Linked DNA regions of Homo sapiens: all the other regions are linked to region 3. The links are contacts of gene promoters, found by promoter capture Hi-C in blood cells and fetal thymus (Javierre and others, 2016). All regions are on one chromosome and are shown on one strand. The core of a region is centred on a gene start or on the middle of the fragment in contact, and the rest is flanking DNA. Distances in the headings are between cores, read along the strand shown.

Region 1 (2,700 bases), core at 153-2,652, 310 kb after region 3:
AAAGAAGAGAACTGGTGGAAGTAGGAGCTGCAAGGCAAAAAGAATATTTGTCACTTGCAGACTGATTCTGCCCCTCTACTACTTCTTTGCAACAGGAAAGATGGACACTACAGGGATTTAGAAGTGAAGAAAAGGGTGAATGATTTCACAATTTACTTTGTGGTGGTAGAGGGTAGAAATGCAGGTCGAATCCCCTTCATAAATGATCAAATCCCTCAACTCCTTGGAATCTGGGTTGATGAGATAAGCAGAGTACAATGCCAGCTTCAGATTACTCCAATTGCAGATGGCGGTGCTTGTCAATGGAGATGATCATTTTTCCATGGGAGATTTGGAAGATAAGAGGAAGAGGAACCAGTATTACTATTAAAATTCTAACAGCATTGAGTTGGCCATTTGATTCTTTGGGTTTGGACAACAGTAAGATATGAGTGGTTTTCAGCAGTGGAAATTTAAATCTGTCAGTGTGTCAGTAAGTTGCTTTAGAGCAATCTACCAGAGCCTGTTGGTGACAGTAAGAAATGGTTCTGTCCCACCTTTCTCCCTCAGTTTCTCTCCCTAAAAGCAAAGACCACACTAAGAGGTTCACCCTGAGAGGTGGCCAAATCAACATAGCATGGTGACTAAGCATGGTGCTTTGGAATTGCAGCTTCCAAAATGGAACTTATTTCTTTGGCAGACATAGCCAGATGTGGCCTACAGAAATATTTTGTGTGGCCCACATATTTTTTTAACTTTCATCTGAGCCAATATTTAGAAATCCCAGTATCTGCTCTCTCTTCTCTGTCTATGCCTCTCTCTCTCTCTCCACCTCCCTCTCCTTGTCTCCTTCTCTATCTCTCATATCGGAAGCTCTGGTAATACTGATCCTGCATTTCTGCATGGCAGGGATAGACTGAAACTGAGAAGTAGCATCTCTCTTGGGCAGTTCACCATAGTTCCCACCACCCACACAGCACATGGATGTACTTTTATACCCAAGGCCATTTGATCTCGGACCTCCTTTGGTGTGCAGGAAGCTATTGACATGTCCCAGACCACTCAAAACCCAAAGAAGGAAGCATCAGATGTCTAACCAGAAAAGTCTAACGAGAACCCCCAAGTGCAAACTCCCTTTAGTTGTAATGGGCAAAACACATGAGACATTCCTGTAGATAGTCCTCCTGGAAGATGTGCCATATGATGAAGAAAGCAGTGGCTTCTCTGTAATAATGCAGAAGTGATTAACATTGATCCCTGAGCAAACAGTTATCTCTTATGCCCCAATAAGCTCATTTCTAGGATAACCAAACACTCCTAATGCAGTTGTTCTCCACTGAGGTGAGTGCACTGAGGTTGAGAAAGTGTCCTTGGTACTGACACATGCCACCACTGCTTCTGATTGACAATCACTCTGTTCTAACCAGTCTGAGTCTGTGTGATCACTTTTTTTTTTTGCTTTGAGACAGAGTTTCACTCTTGTTGCCCAGGCTGGAGTGCAATGGCGCATGTGTGATCACTTCTATGGTAACTATAGCTCCTCCTTCAGAACTATGTCTTGGCTCTGAATCCCTGGGGATTATGTTACAACTAAAGGGAGAAGGAGGAACCCTGAGGATTATAAATGTTGCCAAGGGCAGTGGTGGTTCCTAAATCTATCTATGCATCAGAATCACTTAGACATTTTTTAATGTTCATGTTCCTGGGCTTGATTACACTCCTGCTGTGTTAGTCCATTTGTATAGCTATAAAGGAGTATCTGAGGCTGGATAATTTATAAAGAAAAGAGGTTTCATTGATTCATGGTTCTGCAGGCTTTACAGGAAGCACACTGCCAGAATCTGCTTCTGGTGAGGGCCTCAGGAAACTTCCAATTATGATGGAAGAAAAAGGGGAAGCAGGTGCATCGCATGGCGAAAGCAGGAGCAAGAAAGAGAGAGGGAAGAGGTGTCACACTCTTTTAAACAACCAGCTCTCACATGAACTCAGCGAGAACTCACTTATCACCAAGGGGATGATACTTCATTTATGAGGGATCTGCCTCCATGATCCAATCACCTCCCACTAGGCCCTGTGAACATTGGGAATCACGTTTCAACATGAGACTAGGAGGGGACAAACATCCAAAACATATCAGCTACTGGATTATACTCTTTGGGAATGGAATCCAGCTCTTTGCGTTCTTCACATGCCCACCAGATGATTCTAATGCAGCTGTCCTAGCACCAGCCTGTGCCTCTAAGACAACTTTAGAGAGGCATTGGTTCACAGATGTGGAGGATTCTCTGGAACCTCCCACATTCATTCTGGAATCAGCAACTTCATGCCCCACACTCAATCCCTATCATGCCATCAGAGCCTTTTGTCCTACTGGAGTTTCTGATGTCACAGACAGTGGCTTAACACTATAGTCTGGTGTCAAAACTGACCTGAGCATAAATCTTTCCTCTGCCACTTGCAAACTGAGTGGTCTTAAGTAAGTTGTGACCCCTCCTCAAACTTCAGCTTCTCATCTGTGAAACAGTGATAGTAACACCTACCTCCCAGAGTTGCTGTGACAACTCCTTGAGATAGCATGTGTAAAGATTTGCAACTCGAGATTTGTGTACATGATTGTTATATGGTAAATCCTGGCTCATTTTCTTGCCTTCCAGAAGTAGGGTCAGTTCAGTACTCGTAGGAACTCTTTTTTTTTTTTTTTTTTTTGAGACGGAGTCTTAC
Region 2 (2,700 bases), core at 55-2,554, 480 kb after region 3:
AAGCAGGGCCCAGGGCCTTGCCAAAGCAAAGTCAGTTGTCCTGCCAAAGCAGAACCCAGTGTCCAAAGAAAAAAATACCTTGGGGCTGTTGCCCACAAACCTACCACTTACGAAGGACATCTTCCAAGCCCAGTGCCTTATTTTTAATGCTACAAAAGTAAAAATGCCATGGCCCATGACACCTGGTCAAGCATAAAATGCATGGATCCATCCCTGAGCAAAATAATTCAGCCAACTGCCGGACAGGGTCCAAGGGTGGCTGCAGCCAGGGGCTGGTGTGCCATGGGCAAGGCCACCGGTTGGGACTTTCGCCCCTTTGTAGTTGCCAACTAATTGTTACTGAATCCACTTGGGATCCACTGACCACTCACCTGGCACAGTAAGTCCAAACATCTACACCAAGGTTTGCAGTGGGAGAAAGGAGGATGTTTATTTGCGAGTGCCCAGCAAGGAGAATCCAGCAGCTCATGCTTAAGACCTGGCTTCCCCGATGGCTTGTTAAGGGTTTTTTAAGGCAGGGAGGCAGAGGTTACAGGCACAACTACATATTAATACATGGAGGCTATATATTGCTTTGACCTAAAAAGGGGGGATGTCTCAAAGCATTCAAAGATTCAAAGATTTTCTGATTTGCAATTGGTTAAGGAAGCAAAGCTTTGTCTAAAAATTTGGGGTCAGTAGAAAAGAATGTAAGCTCTGGTTTGTGGGTATGATTTCCTCCAGGTCCCTCAGGAAGAACTTCAGAAGAAAGAGGAGTGGTCAGAGTTCAATCCGCAGTTCCCCCTTATCTGAGGCCTGTGTGCTAGTGGATCCATTTGGTAGGGGTCCAGGTACCTGAAAAACAACTCAGAGAAACGTATGTTAAGACGTTATCGTTAGGGATAAAGGGATAAATATAATGTTCTACAGGGAACATCTTGTGACTCTAACTTCCTTGGTTATAGTTTTAAGCTACTATTACCTTCTTAATGATCAGGTCACTCATTTTCTTCTCAGGGCTAGCTAGGTGCCTGGAGTTTCCCTTGAAGAAACTCTTTTCCTTTATTTCCATGTTGCAGGGAGGGGCCTACAGGCTCCTATGAGGGGTCCCTGCTCTATCTCAGTCCTTGCCCTAAAGAATCTTACATAATTGTTCTTATTGCTTCTTTTTGGAGGTGGCAGGGATTATATCTCTGAATCTCACAAAAGCACTGGTGCTGCTTTTCCAATAGCACTTTGCTTTGCTTCTGAGCTGTTTCGATTTGTTTGTTGTTGGTTTTCATTATGTATTCTGGGAGCCAATGACTTGGCTGGGCACTTGAAATCCTACATTTGAACTTCTGGCAGCTCCCTGTCTGTTTTCACACAAATGGACTTGCTGGGATCAGTAGGGAGACACCTCTGGTCTTAATACCTGCAGCGTTGCAGGTCTGGGTGTGGTCATAGCCATCTTGGCATCCAAGTGCAATGCATTACTCATGTTTGTGGTGATGCTGGTGTAGACAAACCTACCGTGCTGCAGTTGTACAAAAATATCTCACAGACAGTTATGTAAGGTATATAATACTTGATAATGATAATACAATGACTATGTTACTGGTTTGTGTATTTCCTATACATATGTAAACAAATAACTATCATTTTTATTGACTATGTGAATATGACAATATACTTTTTACTGTTATTTCAGAGTATACTCCTTGTACTTATTTTTTTAAGTGAACTATAAAATAGCCTCAGGCAGGTCCTTCAGGAGGTATTCCAGAGGAAGGTATGTTATCACAGGAGATGACAGCTCCATGCACATTGTTCCCCCAAAGACCTTCCAGTGGGACAAGATGTGGAGATGGAAGGCAGTTGTGATATTGATGATCCTGACACTGTGTAGGCCTAAGCTAATGTGTGGTGTGCCTTAGTTTCTAATAAAACAGTTTAAAAAGTAAAAAAAAAAACAAGAATTAACAAGAAAAGCTTATAAGAATAGAGACAAAATATTTTTGTATAGCTGTGCAATGTATTTGTGTTTTAAGCTGTGTTATTATGAGTCAAAAAGTTTTTTAAAAATTAAAAAGTTTATAAAGTAAAAAAGTTATAGTAAGCCAAGGTTAATTTATTATTGAAGAAAGGAATTCTAAATGAATTTAGTGTCATCTAAATGTACAGTAAATCTACAGTAGTGTACAATAATGTCCTAGGCCTTCATCTTCACTCACCACTCACCTACCGATTCACTCAGAGCAACTTCCAGTCCTGCAAGCTCCATTCATGGTACGTGCCCTCTACAGGTATACCTTTGAAAAAAACTTTTGTACTGTATTTTTTTACTGTGCCTTTTCTATGTTTAGATATGCAAATGCTTACCATTGTGTTACAGTTACTTACAGTATTCAGTACAGTCACATGCTGTACAGGTTTGTAGCCTAGGAGCAATAGGCTGTACCATATAGCCAAGGTATGCTGTAGGCTATACCATCTAGGTTTATGTAAGTACACTCAATGATATTTGCACAATAATGAAATCACCTCATGATGCATTTCTCAGAACATATCTGATATGGTTTGGCTGTGTCCCCACCCAAGTCCCATCTTGAATTGTAGCTCCCGTAAGCCCCACATGTTGCGGGAGAAAACCAGTGGGAGGTAACTGAATCATGGGGTAGGTTTTTTCCATGCTGTTCCCCTTATAGTGAATAGTCTCACAAGATCTGATGGTTTTATAAA
Region 3 (2,700 bases), core at 69-2,568:
TTGGAAGAACCAAGTCCCCAGACTGCAACTTGCTACACGCTACCTACGCTTTTCCCATGCAAAAGGAGGTCAGAGGTCTTCCAGTTGTGTTTGGTTCTAGAAGCAAACAAAAAAGAGTGACTTATGGGAGTGGTAGAACATTCTTGAGCCGTGGCCTTTTTGGGAGAGTTAGGCCCCTTGAAAAGTCGATGGAAGCTATATTCTCCTTGCAGGAAACAAAAGGCACACACACTTGCACCCATTTTTGGGAGTTCATGACCCTCAGGTAAAGAACCCCTCCTCGGCAGATAAAAAGCATTTAAGGAAAAACAGACGCAAAATAAAATCTTCGGGTAGACAAGTCAGTCCTGCCTACAGTTATAGATAAGATGGAGAAACAAAACTGAGGACAGGAATTCCATGGAAGAAGGTCACAGGGTCCAGATACGAGAAAAAAACCTCAACGAACCGGGAAACTAAAACTATAGCTTTGAAGAAAAAAACAAAGCATTAAAGCAGAGTTTGGGGTTGAAAGAATGCTCTCCAACAACCAGGAAATCGGGATTTTCACCTTTATTTTTACTCAGGAGATCATTGTTACTCGAACCCAATATTGAAGAGCCAATCTGAAAAGATGGCAATTTACTCCTGAGCTCTGGAAGTTGCTGGAACCTGATCTCGAAGCAGTGACGATCTGTGAACGCCCCAGCTGCACCAACCAAGGTGCTAAACCTTCAGACAGGTCTATTTCTACTCGGATTTTTTCTTTGGGATCAGACTGGTATTTTAAAGCCCTTCCAAACAAACAAACAAAAAACCAGAAGCTTAAAGCAAACCTAACATGTGACTTTGGACACCACTTCATCCAGACTACTTCCCTCAGACACTGACAACCGGCCAGAGGTGGAATCGCGGGAAACCTTAAACCCAGGGAAGAAGTGACTTTAAAGGAAACAAAGCGTTCGCCCCCGCCGCTTGGGAGAAGGGGCTGGGATAGAGACAAAGCCCGAGGAAAACACCGAACTAAAGTTGGGTTAGGAGCGGGGGAGGCATGGGCAGGACCCGAGAGAGGCAACTGGAACCCAGAGTGCGCGAGCGCGGAGGAGGTGAAGGCCCTGTGGACGCAGCGCCGGGAGAGCCTCAGCGGGCCGGGATAAGAGGGGCGCCCCTCACCTCGACTGGGTAGAGCTCGCGCGGCAGCACCGCCTGCAGGTCCATGAACAGGGTGATGGGGATGTGGCTGAGGAAGTAGAGGCCCAGCAGCCACTCCACGCAGCGCCTGGTTGCCGGAGCCCCCATAGTCTGTCGGTTGGGCCTGGACCCGCTGATGTGAGAAGAGGGGCCAAATCCGCGCGCCTTCCCAGACCCACGCGCCTCGGTCGCCGCCTTGCCCCCGCGAGGGCTAGGCAGACCGCTTCCATTGGCTGGCGAGAAGAGGAGGCTCGTGGACAGGGGGCGGCACTCCCCACAGGGCGCACCCATTGGTCCGTATAAGTATAGCGCGTGGAGAAGGCGTCTCGTAAGCCATTTCCATTGGCCGCCAGGAGCGCCGTGTGGGCGGGGCTTAGTCACGCCGTTCGGCGCGCGGCTACTCAGTGTAGATTGCGGTTGTGAGCGCGAGCCTAGCGTTTCGGTGCTGGCCGCGTGGTATCCTGGTGTCCCGGCAGCTGCCGGCGGCGCTCCCTTCCCTCGTGGCTCCGTTCGCCACTACAACAGCAGTATGAAAACTGCACTGGCCCTTGGGCCTTCTGCAGTAAGTCAGCATTAAAAAAATAAAGCTGACGCTGTGCACGGTGGGTCATGCCTGTAATGTCTGCACTTTGGGAGCCCGAGGCAGGAGGATGGCTTGAGCCCAGAAGACCAGCCTGGGTAACTTAGTAAGACATTATCTCTACAAAAAATAAAAAATTAGCCAGGTGTGGTGGTGTGCACCTGTAGTCCTAGCTAGTTCGTGTACTAGTGACCAGCGCCTGTGCTGGGCCGCGGTACCCCGGTGCAGTGCGGCCGTCACGGAGCAGGGGTCGCAGAGCGGGGCACGAGCGCCGCGGTGCAGGTTCCCGGCCCAGCCGGGGTTGCGGGTCTGGGGAGGCAGCTGGCCGCGGTGAACAAAGAAGCAGAGGGGAGGACTCGAGGGACGTAGGAGGCAGTAAAATGGACAGGAATCCTCACCGGCTGTGGAGCATGAGGGAAGGTCAAGGATTCGTTTACACGTTCAGCAAATACTGATGTTCATCTCCACGCTGGGCGCAGGCCTGTCTCGGGGCAGGATCGCCGAGGCTGCCATTTGCTAAGAGGGGACACAGGGCAAGGGAGTGCGAGGAAGGAATGCAGCTTGGACTACGTGGACCTTGAGTGGGCTGCAGCGTTGGGTGGAGGAGGCAGTTGGGTGAGCCTGTCTGGAGTCGTAAGCTTGTGAGGCATCCGCCTTTGATGGCGAGCAGAGGGCCTGGGAGAGATCCTGGGGGAGCTCCAGCCTCAGGTCATGGGAGGAGGGGACTGAGATAGGAGCGTACTAGCAGGGGGCTATGTCACAGGGAGGGGCAGCCTGTCAACACTGAGTGATGCCCGCCTGTGGCCCTGTGGGGAACAGTTGTGTCGTGGGGGCAGGAGCCAGGGAGTAAGAAAGTGGGGAAATGGAGGCAGGAAGTGTAGACAGCTGGTCACGAAGGGGAGAAGACATGGGGCAGTAGCTGGAGAGAGATGCACTCGAGAGTTTATTTT
Region 4 (2,700 bases), core at 26-2,525, 280 kb before region 3:
CAAATTTTTTTTTTGTAGACATAGGTCTCACTATATTGCCGAGGCAGGTCTCGAACTCCTGGGCTTAAAGGATCCTCCTGCCTCTGTCTCCTCCGTGCTGGGATTACAGGCATGAGCCACCGCACCTGGCGATATTTTGCATTCTTTTTTTCATACGACGTGTTTGAAATCCAGTTTGTACAGTGTTTTACATTTATAGCACATTCCCACTGGGACTAGTCACATCTGAAGTGCTCAAAAGCCACTATGGCTAGGGCTAACGTACTGGACAACACAATGCTAGAGGAGCCCGTCCCTGAGGACGCTGCAGTTTATAACATCATAGTTCCTCCTCTTTGGACTGCTGCTTTCCCCCTATGTATTAAGACTTGCAGAGTGTAAACAGGGCGCCGTGAGTGTGCAAAGCACACACACCTTCGCAAACGGCTCACTCTGAATACTGACCTTTCGGCTGTCCTACCTTCAACAGGTTTCCCGTGCATAGGAGATCCAAGACAGCAGAAGGCAGGAGCTGGCGGGACAGGGAGGAAGAGCGGCTCTGCCGTTTACTATCTGTGTGACGCTGAGCAAATTACACACGGTCTCTCTGACTCAGCTCCTTCCTGTCACAAATGGGGATATTTATAGTATTTCTCACTACGTAGGTCCTTATGCGCATTAAATGAGCTACTACACGGCATTCGGCATAGCGCCAGGCACACACTCAATGTTCAATACATGTAGGCGGTTAGCCCAGTAAACTGGTAGCCGGCCTGAGTAAGTCCCAGGAAAAGCCCAGAAACTCTGGAGACATTACAGCCCAGGTCGAGAACCACGGCCCGGGCCGTCCCGGACGCGGGCCCACCAAGCCTAGGGAAGCCGCTCGGCACCGCTTCGGCTTCTAGACTCCCTGGCCGGCTCTTTCCCGTCAAGGCTGCGGCTGGAGAGGACTGAGGGAGACCTAGGGAGAGGATTCCTCTTCTCCATCCACGGAGACAACTTGGATATGAACACCATGGATGTGAGGAGGTCCGCTGGAAGCAGGAGGGATGGACTCCTGGACTCTCCAGCTACCTGCGTGGTCCTCCCCGGTGTGAGGACAGAAGACCGGTCCTGGGCCGGGCCCGCATCCAGCCCTACCGCCGGTGTCTGAGGTGAGGGCTCCGTCAGCGGAAAACGCTCGACAACGGAGGGGCAGGCAGGGCCGGGGGCGTGGTCAACGCGGGCCCCGCCCCCCGGGCTCTACCCCCGAGCGTACGCGCGCGCCTGAAGCAGCCAACCAGGAAGCGCAGAGCAGGTTCAAACACAGACGGCGGGTGAACATGGCGTCCTCGACTTGGTCTGAGACGTGATAGGCCTGCCTTCTGGTTGAAGATGTGGCGAGTGAAAAAACTGAGCCTCAGCCTGTCGCCTTCGCCCCAGACGGTAAGCGGGAGATCTCTGGCGGAGAGAACTGGGCCGGGCTGCTGTCGCGGGGGCACCGGCCGTGTCTACTGTCCTGGAAAGTTGGGTCGAGCCCGGGGTTGGGGGCTTGTGGAGTCTTTGTTCGCCTTGCTGCTCCTGCGCGACTAGGGTGCGAGCGTACTCTTCTAATCGCATTTTGGGCTTCTTAGGGAGGGAGGAGGGGCGGGCTGGCAGAACCCAGGCTTCCTCACACTCGCCCTCTTTCTTGGTTTCTTTCTCAGGGAAAACCATCTATGAGAACTCCTCTCCGTGAACTTACCCTGCAGCCCGGTGCCCTCACCAACTCTGGAAAAAGATCCCCCGCTTGCTCCTCGCTGACCCCATCACTGTGCAAGCTGGGGCTGCAGGTGAGATTCGCCTGGACAGCTTCTCGACTGGGCTGTTTGCCCAGGGTGAGAGCTCAGGGGAACAGAGGGCCAGGGCTACAATAATTAATAACGATAATGAAGTCTTCTACGTCGGTGACATCCATTTACAGCTATTCAGGCCAACAGAGAGGTGCCCTAGGGTGGTTAAAGGAAATCCAGTGAGAACTTGAATCTCTGTTTAGCTGTTAGTTTTTATTACCTCCTCCTCCTCCCTTCGACCTTTATCAAACTATTGAGAAATCCTACCACCCTGATTAGTGCTCTTCCTCCAACATGGGGTCACTTACGGAAAGGTCAGTCACCTGCAAGATTGAGGCAATATCCATTTACTCTAGGAGGTAGTTAGAACTCTCCTGGGATCAAGTTACACCACTGGAAGGTAGGGTACTTGAATCACCTTAGTTTAAACTAGCTCCTTGCAGAATTGCCCTCACTGATTTGTACTTTTGTTAAACGTTTTGAGAGACGTAGCCATGTAGAAACTGCATTTCAGTTGCTGTCAAAACTTGTCAAGGAAGCAGCTTGACTCCTGTATAAGATTCCTCCAAGAAAGGCTTTAGGACTAACTGCCTGGAAAAATTGTCTTCCTGAAGAAATTGCTATCCTTTTCTTTCTGATAATGAGAACTATGTAGTTTACCATATTTTCCCTCTTGCTCTGCCTTCTAGAAAGCTCAAGGCCAAACTGGATCATCACATACAGCTACTGTTATAGCTGTATAGGAAGTTTTGCTTCCTCTTTTTTGACCATGACTTTGTTATTTCATTAATCGTATCTATTCATTTTCATGCATATGAATTATTTTTGGAAGGAGATGGGATATCAATAAAATAGGTATGAGGAGGAAAGAAGAGTGTATAGACAGATGACATCCTGAGTAACAGAAGTA
Region 5 (2,700 bases), core at 22-2,521, 280 kb after region 3:
GAGGAGGAATCTCTGGCATTCAGAACTCCACTGTCGACAAATGATAAAGCTGTTGGTGCAAATTAAAACAAAAAAAGTAAACTTGACCACAAAAATAATAATTTTCCTCTATCTTTCTTTCTTAACAGGGTCACATTCTGTCACCCAGGCTAGACTGCAGTGGCACAGTCCTAGCTCACTGCAACCTCCAACTCCCGGCTCAAGCAATCTTCCCGCCTCAGCTTCCCGAGTAGCTGGGATTACAGATGTGCATCACCATGCCCGGCTGATTCTTTAATTTTTTAGAAACAGGGTCTTAATATGTTGCCCAGGTTGGTCTCAAATTCCTAGGCTCAAGAGATCCTCCCACCTCCCACCTTGGCCTCCCAAAGTGCTGAGATTACAGGCGTGAGCCACCGCCTCCAGCCTCTCCCATATTTTCTATCAAGTAAGTTTCTGTCATTGAAATCTTACTAAAATAGCATCTTTCCATCACTTCATTTATCTGAATTTACCCTTCCTTTAAAATGTGAAATAATAAGCTTACAGAACCTTATCCCTACTGAAACTGTATAGTTTACTCAAAAACTTGGAAGTCATCTTCGATCCCTCCTTTGCCTGTCCACATTGTCCCTTCCAATCTATCAGTCATCAAGTCTTCTTTTTTTTTTTTTTTTTTTTGAGACATGGTCTCTGTTGCCCAGGCTGGAGTGCAGTGGCATGATTACAGCCCACTGCAGCCTCCACCTCTTGGGCTCAGATGATCCTCCCACCTCAGCCTCCCAAGTAGGTGGGACTACAGGCACATGCCACCACACCTGGCTAATTTTTGTATTTTTTTGTAGAGATGGGGTTTTGCCATGTTGCCCAGGCTGAATCATCAAGTCTTAAACAATTTTAAATCCCCCTCACTTCTGCTACTTCCCAGTCACACAGCATTTACCCAAATTTACACCACTAACATCTTTAACCATTTCCCTGCCTGCAAGCTAGCTCTCCTTTGATCCATCCCCCTCTGGGGGCATAGTAAATTTTTAAAAATACAAATCTGAGACCAGGGGCAGTGGCTCACACCTGTAATCCCAGCACTTGGTGAGGCCAAGGTACGTGGATCCCTTGAGTTCAGAAGATCAGTCTGGGCAATGTGGCAAAACCCCGTGTCTACAAAAAATACAAAAATTAGTGGTACACATGTCTCTAGACCCAGCTACTGAAGAGGCTGAGGTGGGAGGATAGCTTGAGCCAGGGAGGTAGATGCTGTAGTGAGCTGAGATCCCACCAGTGCACTCCAGCCTGGGTGACAGTGAGATCCTGTCAAAAAAAAAAAAAGGCTGGCTGTACCCCTAAATAGCCTGGCATGATCTGGTTCCTGCCTACCTACCTCAAGGGTCTTATCTCTCCCTTCCACTCCACACTTCAGACATTCTGAACTTCCTGCAGCTCCTTGAATGCTTTCAAGCCTTCATGTATATCTTCAGCCCAAAACATTTCCCGCTCATCCTTCACTGCTCTAATTCATCCCTCAGGTCTTCGTGTAAATTTTACTTTTTTTCCTGGAAAGTTCTAACTCTGTTCTAGAGTATACGTTTCTGTTGTATATCTCCATGACACTGCCTCCCTCATATCGATATTTTAAGTGCTTGTTGAGTTTGACCGGGGACAGAGAGCTTGTCTGTCTCACTCAATGTTGTATGCCCAGTTCCTTAGGACAGTGCCTGAAAAAAAAGAAGACACTTGCTACAGATTTGCCTGAATTACTGAGTGCAGAAGTGGGTACAAACCCAAGCTCTGCCATTTACTTACTCTATAGTTTAGGCAACTTAACTAACCTTTCTCAATCTCAGTTGCCTCAACTGAAATAATACATGACTCATGAGGTCTATATGAGGGTTAAATGAGGTGATGTATTTAAACGTGCTTGGCAAATAGTGAAAATGCAATATAAATTCTCTTCAACACTCACCCTCATGTAATATTTGAGATGTTTCCAATTTTCCAATGCACAGCACTCTCCTCCAAAGTGTAGTTTCCTAAAAGCTTCTTAGATGTTCAGCAAATTATCTGGTTTCACCTCAGACCTACTGAATAAGAATTGGAGGAGGAGAGGAGGAATCTGTTTAACAAGCTCTCCAGGTCATTCTTACAAACGCTAGAGCTTAAGAAGCACAGGCCTAGAGTAAAGGAGCTTAGTCTTTGTAAACTTTCTTTTTCAGCGCTTAGTATAGTACTATAATAATACATAGAAAGTGCTTGATACATGTGAAATAAATAAATTAATCTAATCCACGAGAAAACAATTGTACATTAAGAGTTATTTATTCCTTCCACAAACATGTATTAAGCACCAATTATATCTAGGCATGGTGCTAACTTCAACTGTGGGGGAGAGGAGATAGATGTACAGATGCTTCTGGACTCATGATGAGTTTGTGTCCCTTCTTTTTTTCTTTTTGAGACGGAGTCTCGCTCTGTCGCTCAGGCTGGAGTGCAGTGGCGCAATCTCGGCTCACTGCAAGCTTCGCCTCCCAGGTTCATGCCATTCTCCTGCCTCAGCCTCCTGAGTAGCTGGGACTACAGGCGCCCGCCACCACGCCCAGCTAATTTTTTGTATTTTTAGTAGAGATGGGGTTTCACCATGTTAGCCGGGATGGTCTCGATTTCCTGACCTTGTGATCCGCCCGCCTCGACCTCCCAAAGTACTGGGATTACAGGCGTGAGCTA
Region 6 (2,700 bases), core at 105-2,604, 390 kb after region 3:
CAATAGATGTCCATTATCTTGGCCATTCCTTTTTGATCTCTTTCCTATGTCTACCTCCTATATCCTGGTGTTCACCGTGTATATTAGTTGGGATTGGGTATAGCAAAGAATAACCAAAAAAAAAAAAAAAAAAAAAAAAAAGCAACATTGACTTGAACAAGATAATTGTTTAGCTGTCATACAAATGTCCAGATATTTGCAGTCCAGAGCTGGTATGGCATCTCCACTTCAGGAAGTCCTCAGGATCACAGGTCTTTCTCTAGTTTGGATGTTGTACCCTCCAAATCTCATATTGAAATTTGATCCCAAGTGGTGGAGATAGGACCTAATTGGAGGTGTTTGGGTCAGGGGGGTGGATCACTTATGAATAGATTAATGCCTTCCCTGGAGGGTAGGGAGACTGAATGAGTTCTCACTCTATTAGCTTCCATGAGAGCTGGTTGATAGAAAGCCTGGCTCCTCCCCTACCTCCCCCTCTAGCTTCCTCTCTTCCCATGTGGTCTCTGCACGTGCTGTCTCTCCTACACCTTCTGACATGAGTGGAAGCAGCCTGAGGCTTTCACCAGATGCCCAGTCTCCCAGAGAGCAGAATTATAAGCCAAATGATTTTTTCTTTATAAATTCCCAGTATCAGCTATACATTTATAGCAACACAAATGGACTAAGACAGTCCTCTTCCAATTAACTGCCCTACAATTCCTTGGGAATGATCCTCATCCTTGTGAATCAAGGCAACATCCAAGTTCCAGGGAGCAAGATGGAAGAAAGACAGAGAAAAAGAGTAAATAAAGGGCATAAACTACCTCATAAGGGAATTTTCAGGAAGGTGACACTAACATCCCTTTAGCCTGAACATGGTCATACCTAGCTGCAAGGAAGCCTGGGAAGTGTAGTCTTTACTCTGAAGCCCATGTGCTCAGTTAAAAATTCTATTACTATGGGAGAAGGAAAAAAATGGACATAAGGTGGCAAAAAGAAATCATTGCTACTCCAGGGATCATCCTAGGCCCACTGGTTCTTAGTGTGCTCTTTCTTGTTGATCTGATTCACACTCAGGGTTTCCATTTTTACTTGTGTGTTAATGACTTCTGATTGCCTCTCTTGAGCTTGGATATCTCCCTGAACTCAGATTCATATATCCAAGTGTTTATTGAACGCCAGGGTATTATCAGGCACCTAAACTCAACATGACCCAAACTGGCATCTTTCCCACCAAAATTAGGTCCTTCAGCTTAAAATATCTGATCACCATTAAGTGTAGGCTATAGACCACCCCAGAGTTTTTGGTGGAGGGAAATTATGATACAGTCATAGTGAAGAGGCTGGTGTGTTAGAATTGGCCAGACCTGTGTTCAAATCTGGTTCTGCTTCTCATTCGCTATGAGAATTGAGGTGAATTCCTGTAGTAGTTTGCTATGGCAATGGTAATAAAGTCTCACAAACTAGATGACTTAAACAATAGAAATTTATTGTTTTACAGTTCCAGTGGCTAGAATTCCAAGATCAAGGTGTCAGCAGCATGGTTCTTTCTGAGAGCTGTGAAGAAGAATCCGTTCCATGCCTCTCCCCCAGTTTCTGGTGGTGTGCTGGCAGTCTTTGGCATTCTTTGGCCTGCAGACGCATCACCCTAATCTCAGGTATCATATTCCCTGTGTGCATGTGTCCTTGTGTGTGAATGTCTGCTTTTTATAAGGAGACTAGTCATATTGAATTAATGCCCATCCTAATAACATCATTTTAACTTGATTACCTCTATAAAGACCTTACCTTCATTTTGAGATACTGGGATTAGGACTTTAACATAGGAATTTTGGGGAGACCCAATTCAACCCATAACAATTACTTAACCTATCCTTGGAGGATAATAAGACAAAACATAATAAGAATGCTGAGAATGAGGTTGGGTGCAGTGGTTCACACCTGTAATTCCCGCACTTTGGGAGGCCAAGATGGGAGGATCACTTGATACCAGGAGTTTGAGACCAACCTGGGCATTATAGCAAGATCCTACCTCTTAAAAAAAAAGAAAAAGAAAATTAGCTGGGCATGATGGTGCATGCCTGTAGTCCCAGCTACTTGGAGGTGAGGTGGGAGGATCATTTGATTCCAGGAGTTCAAGGCTGCAGTGAGTTATGATCATGCCACCATGCTCCAGCCTGAGCAACAGAGTGAGACCCTGACACTAAAACCACCAAAACCAACCAACCAAACAAACAAAAAAAGAATGCTGATAATGAGATCCATATTGCAGAGTTATTGTAAAGATTATGATATTGTAAGTGAATCTTCCAGGCACAAAGTTGGTGTTTAATAAATGCCAGTTTCCTTCTGTCTGACTGTAGACTTAACTGTAATTTTGAGGCTCCTGGAGGAAAAAGAAAATGTTTCAGGGATGGTACAAAACTAGAAGATGAAACTATAGTGAACATTTATTATTCTCTTTGGTAGCCCAGCTCCGGAACGCCTTTCCCATGTTTGGTGTGTTTTCTACCTAATGAGTTTTGATGGAAGTGAAGGCTGTTATTTACCTCTGGAAGCTAAAAATACCAGCTCCCTGGTCATCTCAGGTCAGTCCCAGGGGGACTCGGAGTCTCTCTGTGTAGTCTTCAAGTCTGGTTTTCTAGCCCCCCGCTCCTCCAGAGATTCTGTGAACTATAAATATCCTTAAATAACTTTCTCTCCTGCTTAAATCACTTAGAG

The links. The method cuts DNA at HindIII sites, captures the fragments that hold promoters and counts their contacts. A CHiCAGO score of 5 or more calls a contact.
Region 1: a fragment that was not itself captured here is called in contact with the fragment with the promoter of TMEM97 in region 3 in 1 of 17 cell types (M2 macrophages); the score reaches 5.4 in M2 macrophages.
Region 2: a contact is called between a fragment that was not itself captured here and the fragment with the promoter of TMEM97 in region 3, in 1 of 17 cell types (M2 macrophages). The highest score is 5.4, in M2 macrophages.
Region 4: a contact is called between the fragment with the promoter of SPAG5 here and the fragment with the promoter of TMEM97 in region 3, in 2 of 17 cell types (fetal thymus and activated CD4 T cells). The highest score is 5.5, in fetal thymus.
Region 5: a fragment that was not itself captured here is called in contact with the fragment with the promoter of TMEM97 in region 3 in 1 of 17 cell types (fetal thymus); the score reaches 6.9 in fetal thymus.
Region 6: a contact is called between a fragment that was not itself captured here and the fragment with the promoter of TMEM97 in region 3, in 1 of 17 cell types (M1 macrophages). The highest score is 5.4, in M1 macrophages.

Annotation. Positions count from the first base shown.
Region 1 is chr17:28,010,135-28,012,834 of GRCh38, reverse strand. No RefSeq gene overlaps it. Among named protein-coding and RNA genes, the nearest start is that of LINC01992, 20 kb to the right of the region's middle. The HindIII fragment of the contact is 4,914 bases long and covers 1-2,700 here.
Region 2 is chr17:27,833,502-27,836,201 of GRCh38, reverse strand. No RefSeq gene overlaps it. Among named protein-coding and RNA genes, the nearest start is that of NOS2, 34 kb to the right of the region's middle. The HindIII fragment of the contact is 1,296 bases long and covers 657-1,952 here.
Region 3 is chr17:28,317,818-28,320,517 of GRCh38, reverse strand. It overlaps TMEM97 (transmembrane protein 97), which reads right to left and starts at 1,318. Exons shown (of 3, transcript NM_014573.3): 1 at 1,153-1,318. The coding sequence starts at 1,278. RefSeq lists enhancers at 1,195-1,254, 1,735-1,994, 2,214-2,700. The HindIII fragment of the contact is 1,585 bases long and covers 806-2,390 here.
Region 4 is chr17:28,597,600-28,600,299 of GRCh38, reverse strand. It overlaps SPAG5 (sperm associated antigen 5), which reads left to right and starts at 1,275. Exons shown (of 24, transcript NM_006461.4): 1 at 1,275-1,404; 2 at 1,665-1,790. The coding sequence starts at 1,354. It overlaps SPAG5-AS1 (SPAG5 antisense RNA 1), which reads right to left and starts at 1,167. Exons shown (of 3, transcript NR_040012.1): 1 at 1,054-1,167; 2 at 445-602. RefSeq lists enhancers at 765-844, 1,069-1,613 and a silencer at 1,055-1,364. The HindIII fragment of the contact is 7,511 bases long and covers 1-2,700 here.
Region 5 is chr17:28,038,152-28,040,851 of GRCh38, reverse strand. All of the region lies in intron 2 of LOC105371709 (a long non-coding RNA gene), which reads left to right. Among named protein-coding and RNA genes, the nearest start is that of NLK, 3.2 kb to the left of the region's middle. The HindIII fragment of the contact is 1,495 bases long and covers 524-2,018 here.
Region 6 is chr17:27,930,474-27,933,173 of GRCh38, reverse strand. LINC01992 (long intergenic non-protein coding RNA 1992) reads left to right here. Exons shown (of 5, transcript NR_146896.1): 3 at 1,481-1,637; 4 at 2,449-2,567; 5 at 2,699-2,700. Among named protein-coding and RNA genes, the nearest start is that of LYRM9, 38 kb to the right of the region's middle. The HindIII fragment of the contact is 3,848 bases long and covers 1-2,700 here.